3 separate regions of the Homo sapiens genome follow, and all the other regions are linked to region 1. The links are contacts of gene promoters, found by promoter capture Hi-C in blood cells and fetal thymus (Javierre and others, 2016). All regions are on one chromosome and are shown on one strand. Each heading gives the region's core, a stretch centred on a gene start or on the middle of the fragment in contact. The rest is flanking DNA. Distances are from core to core; before and after follow the strand shown. Region 1 holds the start of ARL5B (ARF like GTPase 5B). Region 2 overlaps IPMK (inositol polyphosphate multikinase). Region 3 holds the start of CSGALNACT2 (chondroitin sulfate N-acetylgalactosaminyltransferase 2).

What was found. Contacts are between HindIII fragments. The CHiCAGO score rates a contact against its expected background, and 5 or more counts as called.
Region 2: a fragment that was not itself captured here is called in contact with the fragment with the promoter of ARL5B in region 1 in 2 of 17 cell types (total B cells and total CD4 T cells); the score reaches 9.9 in total B cells.
Region 3: a contact is called between a fragment that was not itself captured here and the fragment with the promoter of ARL5B in region 1, in 1 of 17 cell types (total B cells). The highest score is 7.9, in total B cells.

The regions. Positions count from the first base shown.
Region 1 is chr10:18,657,957-18,661,043 of GRCh38, forward strand. It overlaps ARL5B (ARF like GTPase 5B), which reads left to right and starts at 1,475. Exons shown (of 6, transcript NM_178815.5): 1 at 1,475-1,727. The coding sequence starts at 1,682. It also overlaps a transcript of NSUN6 not described here. RefSeq lists enhancers at 304-423, 1,124-1,253 and a silencer at 1,564-1,643. The HindIII fragment of the contact is 6,724 bases long and covers 518-3,087 here.
Region 2 is chr10:58,261,878-58,264,964 of GRCh38, forward strand. All of the region lies in intron 1 of IPMK (inositol polyphosphate multikinase), which reads right to left. Among named protein-coding and RNA genes, the nearest start is that of IPMK, 4.5 kb to the right of the region's middle. The HindIII fragment of the contact is 3,933 bases long and covers 1-3,087 here.
Region 3 is chr10:43,138,348-43,141,434 of GRCh38, forward strand. CSGALNACT2 (chondroitin sulfate N-acetylgalactosaminyltransferase 2) reads left to right here and starts at 98. Exons shown (of 8, transcript NM_018590.5): 1 at 98-220. It overlaps CSGALNACT2-DT (CSGALNACT2 divergent transcript), which reads right to left and starts at 46. Exons shown (of 1, transcript NR_186456.1): 1 at 1-46. RefSeq lists silencers at 1-454, 565-634. The HindIII fragment of the contact is 1,792 bases long and covers 771-2,562 here.

The DNA of each region.
Region 1 (3,087 bases), core at 225-2,724:
TGGTTTCTTAGAAATCCGAAAGCCAGAAAAAAAAAAAAAAAGCAGAATGTGGTTTACATCCATGTCTAACAATTGAAGAAGCTGTTACGGAATCTAAAGTTTGTTTTGTGATAATGAAGCTAGGACTAAAAATGTCCTTTTAAGCCATTACTTACACAAACACAAAATTATTCACATTTATGGTCCAACTGATAGTCATGAAAGTTAAGTTTGCATAGGGTCAGTACATTCTTTTTCCTCTACATAGGAGGTTGAAACTTGCCTTTAATGTTGTAACGTTGGAGCATATTATCCTGCATCTAAGTCTTAAAGGGTCTTTAAACCATAGCACTGGGAGGACGTAAGTCATACATTCTCCTTGTACAGGTTAACTCAAGAGTTTGGCATGTTAAAAGGCCACGTTGCCAAGGTTAAAATCCAACCATCTGACTGAAGTCAGAGTCTAAAAAAATTTTAAGCTTGCTCCTCCGTCAACTGGTTTCAAGGACATTCAGTTTCGTTTCATGCCAGGCTGTGAAGCTTTTCTTTTCAATGCTAGAACCTAACCATGGAAAGTGGAATTGAAAACAATTACACAGCGAATTGGCTTATGCGTGGACTTCGATCTGGGATCCACGAACATACCTAATGCTTGGCAAAATGGAGAGGGGTGCTATGTGTTATTATTATGTGTTATTATTAATCACATAACTGAACTCTGTGGCTCCAGGCCTTCCATGGCTCGTCTCCCAATCAATTCTTTTCAGAACTAAGAATCACGACAGGGGCCGGGCGCGGTGGCTGAGCCTGCAATCCCACCACTTTGGGAAGTCGAGGCAGGAAGATCGCTTGAGCCCAGGAAATTGAGTCCCCCTGGGCAACACAGCCCGACCTCGTCTGCAATCGATCAATCAATCAATGAGTACATAAATGCATAAGCCAATGAATGAATACGTGAATGAATAGATTAATAAATGAATGAAGAAGAATCACGGCAGAACTCCTAACCCCTAGCACGCCTGCCTAGGGGAACAGGAATAAGTCAGGAAAGAAACACTCTTCACTTCTGTGAGTTTTCTAAGAGCAGCAAACGGCGGCTGCTCACTTAGAGAACCTATGGTCTTTCCTGGTTTTAGAGGTCAGGGAAGCAGCTGCTAGCAGCAGAGACTCAAATCAAAGGGGAGTCCCACAAACGTTTTGAAGGCTGACATCAGAAGGAGCACGCACCAAGGGAAATTTCCCACCCCCCCGCGATACCGCAAATTCCCAGCCGCTGGCCGTTTGGGACTCTCCTACCGGAAGTGAAACCGAAGAAAACGCCACGTCGAAGGCGTGGGTTGCCGTAAGTGCGCCGTCGTCACGCGCCTAGCTTCCGGCGATGGGTGGTCCTGGGATCCGGAGGGGAGGCGGGGTGGAGGCGGGGCTTGGGGCTGTGGAGAGGCTGTGGTAGGTAGGTGGGTACAGACCGAGGGGACTACGGGTCGGCGTTGGGCTCAGTGGGCTCGAAACAAAGGGCTGTCCGGTGGGGATTCGTCGCGGCGCCTTCTGAGTGGTCGGGTCGAGGCTTCTCGGCCTAGCAGTGCCCTCGCTGCGCGATCTCAGGCGGGTTCTCCTCGGCTCCGCGCAGCCCGCGCCGCGGTGGGGGACCCGGCGCAGCGGCACCTGCTGCCGAGGGACCCCGCGGCCCGCCCCGGTGCTCGTGATGGGGCTGATCTTCGCCAAACTGTGGAGCCTCTTCTGTAACCAAGGTGAGAAGAATGGAGCTGCGCGGCGGCTCGAATCCGAGGCAGAGGGTCCCGCCGCCGATGGGGACACCGGAGACAGGGGACAGAGCGTTCGGAGACGCGGAGGAGGAAGGGACTTAGGCCAGGGGGCGGGCAGAAACTCAGTGTTTTAGACCTGGAGGACGTACAGGAGAGACCTGACGTGTGGGAGAAATAGGGAGGCAGAAGAGAAGGTATTTGGCGTCCCAGAATCCAAACTGAGAATGTTTGGATATTGGCGAAGTAAAGCGGGATACAGCTAATGATGCCAGGAGGCGTATGGAGGGCCTTTCTCGTCTTTATTGAAGCGTGCTTGTGTCTATGTGTATCCCCAGGATAAGTGTCCGCCCAGAAACCTAGAACTTTTTTTTTTTTGAGTAATGTAGGTGCTTTGTTTTCCCGCCCTGCAGTTTGAGCCGTAAGCCAGTGCACTTTCACTCTGATTTCGCCTCCTTTCCTCTAGGACTTGGGAATGAGTTGTCCTATTCAGATGCACGAGTTTTCCAGCATCTTCATTGTAAACTTTTTTTTTTAAAGCATTTAGTTCAGAAACTAAATGCTTTTCGGTTTTGTGTAAGACGTTACGTGTCCGTAATTAGTCTGTAACAGGTAATGAGACACCTGGAAGTGGCAGGTCCAAAGGGCCGAGAAGTTGCAAAACCTGTTCTGAATCAGAATGAGATGTGATGTCTTCTGAAGAGAGAAAACACCCAGACCAAAAAAGGGGCCGACGATAAGTTAAAGTTTGAGGCGTCCTTTGAACAGAATGGTTTCTTAGTAATTGAAACCAGTTTTGAAAATCAACTCGTTTCATTTTACATTTAAGAGCCGGGCATCGTTAATAAGCCAGTTTTATTTCCTTTTATGTTGGTACCAATTTGTTACTGCTAATGTAGGTATCTAATCTTTTTCTGGATTTAAGAAGTTGTGGAGGTAATGGAATGGCTTTAGTTGACTTGTTCTGTAGATTGATAAGAACACTAAAGCAGTCTTTTTCAAGGTTATAAATATAGATACAGGCACACACATGTGTATATATATGTATATGCCTGTATCCAGTAACCACAGATAATATTACTTATCAAATGATTTCAAAGTGAGCAGAGCTTCACACTTTGTGGGTATTATCCATACATTTAAAATATTATTTTTATTTATTTATTTTTTGAGGCAGAGTCTTTCTCTGTCGCCCAGGCTTCAGTGCAGTGGCGCAATCTCAGCTCACTGCAACCTCTGCATCCTGGGTTCAAGCGATTCTTGTTCCTCAGCCTCCCGAGTAACTGGTATTTACAGGCACCCGCCACCACGCCCGGCCTATTTTTGTATCTTTAGTAGAGACAGGGTT
Region 2 (3,087 bases), core at 264-2,763, about 40 Mb after region 1:
AACACAGTTTATACCCTCAGTATAAGAAAATCTCATCCTGAATTCATGAGTTGATGTCCTTTGTAGCGACATGGATGAAACTGGAAACCATCATTCTGAACAAACTATCGCAAGGACAGAAAACCAAACACCGCATGTTCTCACTCATAGGTGGGAACTGAACAACGAGAACACTTGGACACAGGGCAGGGAACATCACACACCGGGGCCTGTCGTGGGGTTGGGGGGATGGGGGAGGGATAGCATTAGGAGAAATACCTAATGTAAATGACTAGTTAACGAGTGCAGCAAACCAACACTGCACATGTATACATATGTAACAAACCTGCACGTTGTGCACATGTACCCCAGAACTTAAAGTATAATAAATAAATAAAAAAATCTCATCCTGAATTCTTTATTCTAGGCTTGTTTTCTGAAGTAGTATGGGTGTAGAAATTCTGAAAATTGTAAGATTAAGCAAAAGAATAAACATATTAATATCACTGGGAGCCAGGGTTCTTACTACAGAAGAAGGGAAATACAAATTTAGAATCAAGGGAAAGGAAGAACTCGGGTTTAAATGAAATTTGAAATATGAAATTATAATTTCTAAAATATTTATACATACTTTAAAAATCATGTCCATTGAAAAGTCCTGGAAGAAATGATACTCCAACAGTTATGACAATACCTAGTAACACAGATCTTGGTTTCTAAATACCATTTTCCACTAAAAAGAAACCAGGGCTCCTTGAAGAAATGGTTGACTCTAGGGCTGGGGAAGAAAGTTATGAGATAATTCTAAAAAATCTGTTATGACAGAAAGGAAGTGCTCTCAATGGTCAAATTTGGGACCATTTGAGCAACAAAATAAATAAGTTCCTTTTTTAAAAACATTGAGATGTGATTAAAGTCCAATAAATAAGTTCCATAATGGGTAATGATACATGTTATCAAATAGGAATCCATGATGCAAACTGATTATAAATAAGGACATAAATACTTAAGGGTAAAGGAAGAGCTATTTCTTGGAATGCTAGCTGTTAAAGCAGAGGGAGTGAAAGAATGGGGGGAAAAAATCACAATTTTGTAACTATCAGAATAAACACAGCTTCAGGCAAGAATCAACAGATGCCAAATCTAGGGATGAAGTTGATGAGAATCCAGATAGCTGCATGACTGTAAAGTGTCTCCTCACATATAGCTTATTAAATGTAGAACAGAAAACATTAACTATATACTGAAGCCAGGCATGGTGACTCATTCCTGTAATCCTAGCACTTTGGGAGGCTGAAGCAGAAGGATCACTTGAAGCCAGTAGTTCAAGACCAGCCTGGGCAACAAAGCCAGATCCCATCTCTACAAAAAATTTTAAAATTAGCCTGGCCCAGCAGTGGTTCATGCCTGTAATCCCAGCACTTTGGCAGGCAGAGGTGGGTGGATCACCTGAGGCCAGGAGCTCAAGACCAGCCTGGCCAACATGGCAAAACCCCGTCTCTACTAAAAATACAAAAATTAGCCAGGCATGGTGGTGCACTCCTGTAATCCTAGCTACTTAAGAGGCTGAGGCACGAGAATCACTTGAACCTGGGAGGCGGAGGTTGCAGTGAGTCAAGACCGCGCCACTGTTCTCCAGCCTGGGCAACAGAGCAAGACTCCGTTAAAAAAAAAAAAAATTAGCCTGGCCTAGTGGTGTGCACCTATACTCCCGGCTACTCAGGAGGCTGAGGCAGGAGGATTGCTTGAGCCCTGAAGTTTGAGGCTGCAGTGAACTACATCACGCCACTGCACTCCAGCCTAGGTGACACAGCAAGAGCCTGTCTCAAAAAACAAACAAACAAAACGATATACTGAAGAAGCCAGACTACACTTGAATCAGACAACCAGAAATAATCCACTACCAAAGGGCAGCTATTGTTGGCCTCCACTTACACAATGTTCCAGCTGGAAAAGTATCATCTGAATCCCATCGTAAGGAACTATCAGAAACCCAAATTAAAGAACATTTCATAAAATAACTGGCCTGTACTCTTCAAAATGACAATGTCATAAAGGACAGGGAAAGGCTGAGGATATGTTACAAATGAAAGGACACTAAAAGACATAACAACTAATTGCAATAAATGATTCTGGACCAGATCCTGTACTGAGAAAAACAAATGTGATAAAAGACATTACAGTATTGGAACAGTTGACAAAGTGAGACTATGGACTATAGATTAAAGTATTATATCCCTGTTAAATTTCCCATAGTTGATCAATGTGCTGTGGCTACAGAAGAGAATATCCTTGTTCTTAAGGAAGACACACTTTAGTATTAACATGTAAAGTGGCATAATGTATGCAACCTACTTGCAAATAGTTAAGAAAAATTATTTGCATTGAGAGATAATAAAACAAATTTTGCAAAATGTTACTTTTCTATTGTTCTTGCAACTTTTCTGTAGGCTTGAAATTATTTTAGGTTAATTAGTTTCAGAGGATATCTAATAAAAAGAGACTACTAAGCCAAGATAATTGTAGGTCTTTCTCCCCCACAACAATTATCAGTTTAAATCCTTGTTTTCCCTATAGACTACCCCATTTCTACATCCTACATCAGATCAAGAAATATCAGATTTCCATCATTTGTTTAAAACTTTAAGGACTTTTTAAAGAACTTAATGATACATATTAAAAGAATTTTATGCTAACTTTGGTGAGTTTTGGGAATTTATATTGATCTTTTTTTTGCGAAAACTTCCTACAGAGATAGGTACACAACGTGCAAGGTATGCTATTATATACAAGAATGTTTAATAAGTACATTACTTATCACAGCAAACAAATGGTGAAAAGTCTAAAAATCTATGATTACAGAAATAGTTAAATAAATTGTGATACATCCACATTGTAGAACACAATTTTTAGAAAGAATAAAGTATACCGTAAGTGCAAAAATATAGGTATAATACATGATATAATACAGAATGAGAAAAGTTGCTGATAGATTTATTTGTATAAAAAAACAGAACCGCGCTAATGTGTTTATGTATGTGCCCAGAAACAAAGGCCTGAAAGGATAGACAGGAAGTAGTTACCAGTGATTGCCCCTGGGAGAATGAG
Region 3 (3,087 bases), core at 417-2,916, about 24 Mb after region 1:
CGGTGATGAATCGGTACCCAGCTGCCAGTGGCGGAGCTTCCTGGGCGGGGCCGCGGGCGCGCGGCGGCTTCATTTCCTCGCGCGCGCCGGAAGTGGCCTCTCAGGCGCGGCGGCGCGCCCGGGGGTGGGTGGCTGAGGCGGCGGCGGGCCCAAGGCGTGAGGCGCCGCCCGGGTGTCCCCGCGGCGCAGGAGGCGGTGGAGCGCAGAGCGGGCGAGCGCGGTGAGTACCTGGCCCGGCCTCGCCCGCCGGTCCGCGACTCCCGCCGGCTCCGGCCCGGGCGGTGCGGGCGCCGGGGCTGCGGGCTCCTGTGTGGTCGGGTGGGGTCGCCTAGCGGACCGGTCCTGCGGGGGGCCCTGTCTCTCAGGGATGAGCCTGCCGGAGTCGGCACCGGTTTTAGGGAAAGCGCGGCCAGAGACGATTGGTTCGCTTGTCAGTGTTGGGTTTTGTTTTGTTTCGTTTTGTTTTTACCTATTCATCACCATCTCTGCTCCTCTCAGTGGATAAACTTTTTAATCAGTGGTGACCTCGTCATCGCGTTAAAATAGTTCTGCCCTCAGCCCCTCTTTATCTGTAGATGGCAGAGCGAGCGCCGGTAAAGATGCTCTGTCGTGGAGGGCTCAGTGGGGCGGAGGAGATGGGGAGCCTCTGGCGTTGTCGGAGAATGCACCTTAAAAATGACTCTACCCTTGAGCAACGCAGGAAGCACGACAGTGATACTTCTGTTTGTGATGATGGTATTGGCGGTATGATAGTTTGATTATACATCTGAAGCTTCTCTTCCTGAGTCCTTGGCTTGTTAAACTTGGAGGTATTTTCTAGCGTGCTTTTGAGATAGATATGGGATGTCGTGACGTTTCACCGTCATTCAAGGCTCGCGGGAGCAGGGCCTTCATGTCTGGTAATTAATGTTGTTTTTTGAATGTTGTATTAAAATAGTAGCTTCGATCTTGGAAGTAAGAAGCCAAGTATTTTAGGACTGAGTGTTAGCGTTCATTTTGTATTATTGTTCTTGTACCATTTGTTTAAAGTTGTCATGTAACTAAAAGAATGAAAAAAGATGGATTTCCAGTATTTGTGGCTCAGAGGATTTTGGCCTAAATAAACACAGTTCCAACCAGTTTAGAAGCTGCATTTTTCTCTTTGTTTTTGTCGAGGCATAAAATACATATGAAATCAATAAGAGCACGAATCTTAATTGTACAGCTCAATGAATTTTTACATACTTATTACCCTGTGGAACCACCAGATATATCAAATTATAACCATAGAACATTTCCATCATCCTATTTTCCTGTGCTTCTTCCAAGTCAGTTATATCCTTGTTTTCCCATCTGTATTCTAACTTCTCTTATCTGCTTTTAGTTTTCTCTGTTTTGAGCTTCATGTTAATGGAATCACGTAGTATTCTCAGCATATTGTTTGTGGGACACACCCATGCTATTTCATGGTATTGTATTATTACTGTGTAATAGTCTATTGAATAATATGTGACTACTCTTCAGTTGATGGACATTTATGTTCCCAATTTTTGTATATGATGTGTTTTGGATATTAAGAATACTGTGGGCCTGGCGTGGTGGCTCAGGCCTTTTATCCCAGCGCTTGGGGAGGCCGAGGCAGGTGGATCACTTGGTCAGGAGTTCGAGACCAGCCTGGCAAACATGGTGAAACCGCATCTCTACTAAAAATACAAAAATTAGCCAGGCGTGGTGGCGGGCGCCTGTAAGCCCAGCTACTTGGGAGGCTGAGGCGGGAGGTGGAGGTTGCAGTGAGCCGAGATCGTGCCACTGCACTCCAGCCTGGACGACAGAGCCTGACTCGGTCTCAAAAAGAAAAGAAAAAAAAAAGAGTACTGTGGACATTCTTGTAAATTAAATGTCTTGGTGAGCATCTGTATGCATTTCTGTCAGCTATAGAATGACTGAGTCATGGCATAAGCAGAAAATTACCAACATGGAGTCATTACCAACCATACCATTACCAACCAAAGGCAGAAAATTTAACCAACATGGAGTCATCTTTTTTTTAATGTAATAGAATTTGTTATTTTAACTAATATAACATTCAAGGTTGGTTTTAAAAAAGCATAACTATTATGAGTTCAAGACGTAAGTGATTCATTCATTACCATGTTATTATTTACCCTTTGAATTGCACATTTATGACTGTCTTCTGTCGGACTGTCATTGTTTGTTTAACTGTTAGACAAGTCTGTTAGAGCTGGTGAGGATCTGACTCTGAAGTTTAGCATAACATTTACTTAAGAACTGTATTACTCAAGTTAGTGGTTTTTTAGAGGAAATGAAATACCAAAAGGATATGACTGAAAGTGGATTGAAGAATCACGGGACTGCAAGTCAAAGAACTTACATTGTTATTGTCATGCTACACAAGCACTAGGTATAAGTGTAAAATTGAATTATAGGGCTAGTTACAAATGTGAATTCACAGCAGGAGTACAGTGATTTTCATATGGACTGAGATACTACTAGCACATTTATAATGTGAACACACAACAAAAATCACTAAACATTTGTGGGAAATCGGTAGCATCTAAGAGAAGCTTCAGACCAAACAAATACAGAACTAGGCACTGAAGCAGTGGAGCTAATGTAAGACAAAAGAAAGCTTTAAAGTAAGTATTAGTATCTTCAAATTTGTTAAGGTATTATGCCTACTGAACACATACAGGCTGCCATGAAAAAAAGCAATTGATTCTTGAATATTTAAACATGGAAAGTAGGAAAGGGCCAGGTGTGGTGGCTCATGCCTGTAATTCCAACACTTTGGAAGGCCGAGGCAGGAGGATCTCTGGATTCCAGGAGTTTGAGAGCAGCCTAGGCAACATAATGAGACCCTGTCTCTACAAATAATTTTTTTTTTTTTTGAGACGGAGTCTGGCTCTGTTGCCCAGGCTGGAGTGCAGTGGCGCCATCTCGGCTTACTGCGAGCTCCACCTCCCAGGTTCACGCCATTCTCCTGCCTCAGCCTCCCGAGTAGCTGGGACTACAGGCGCCCGCCACCATGCCCGGCTAATTTTTGTATTTTTAGTAGAGACGGGTTTCACCATGTTAGCCAGGATAGTC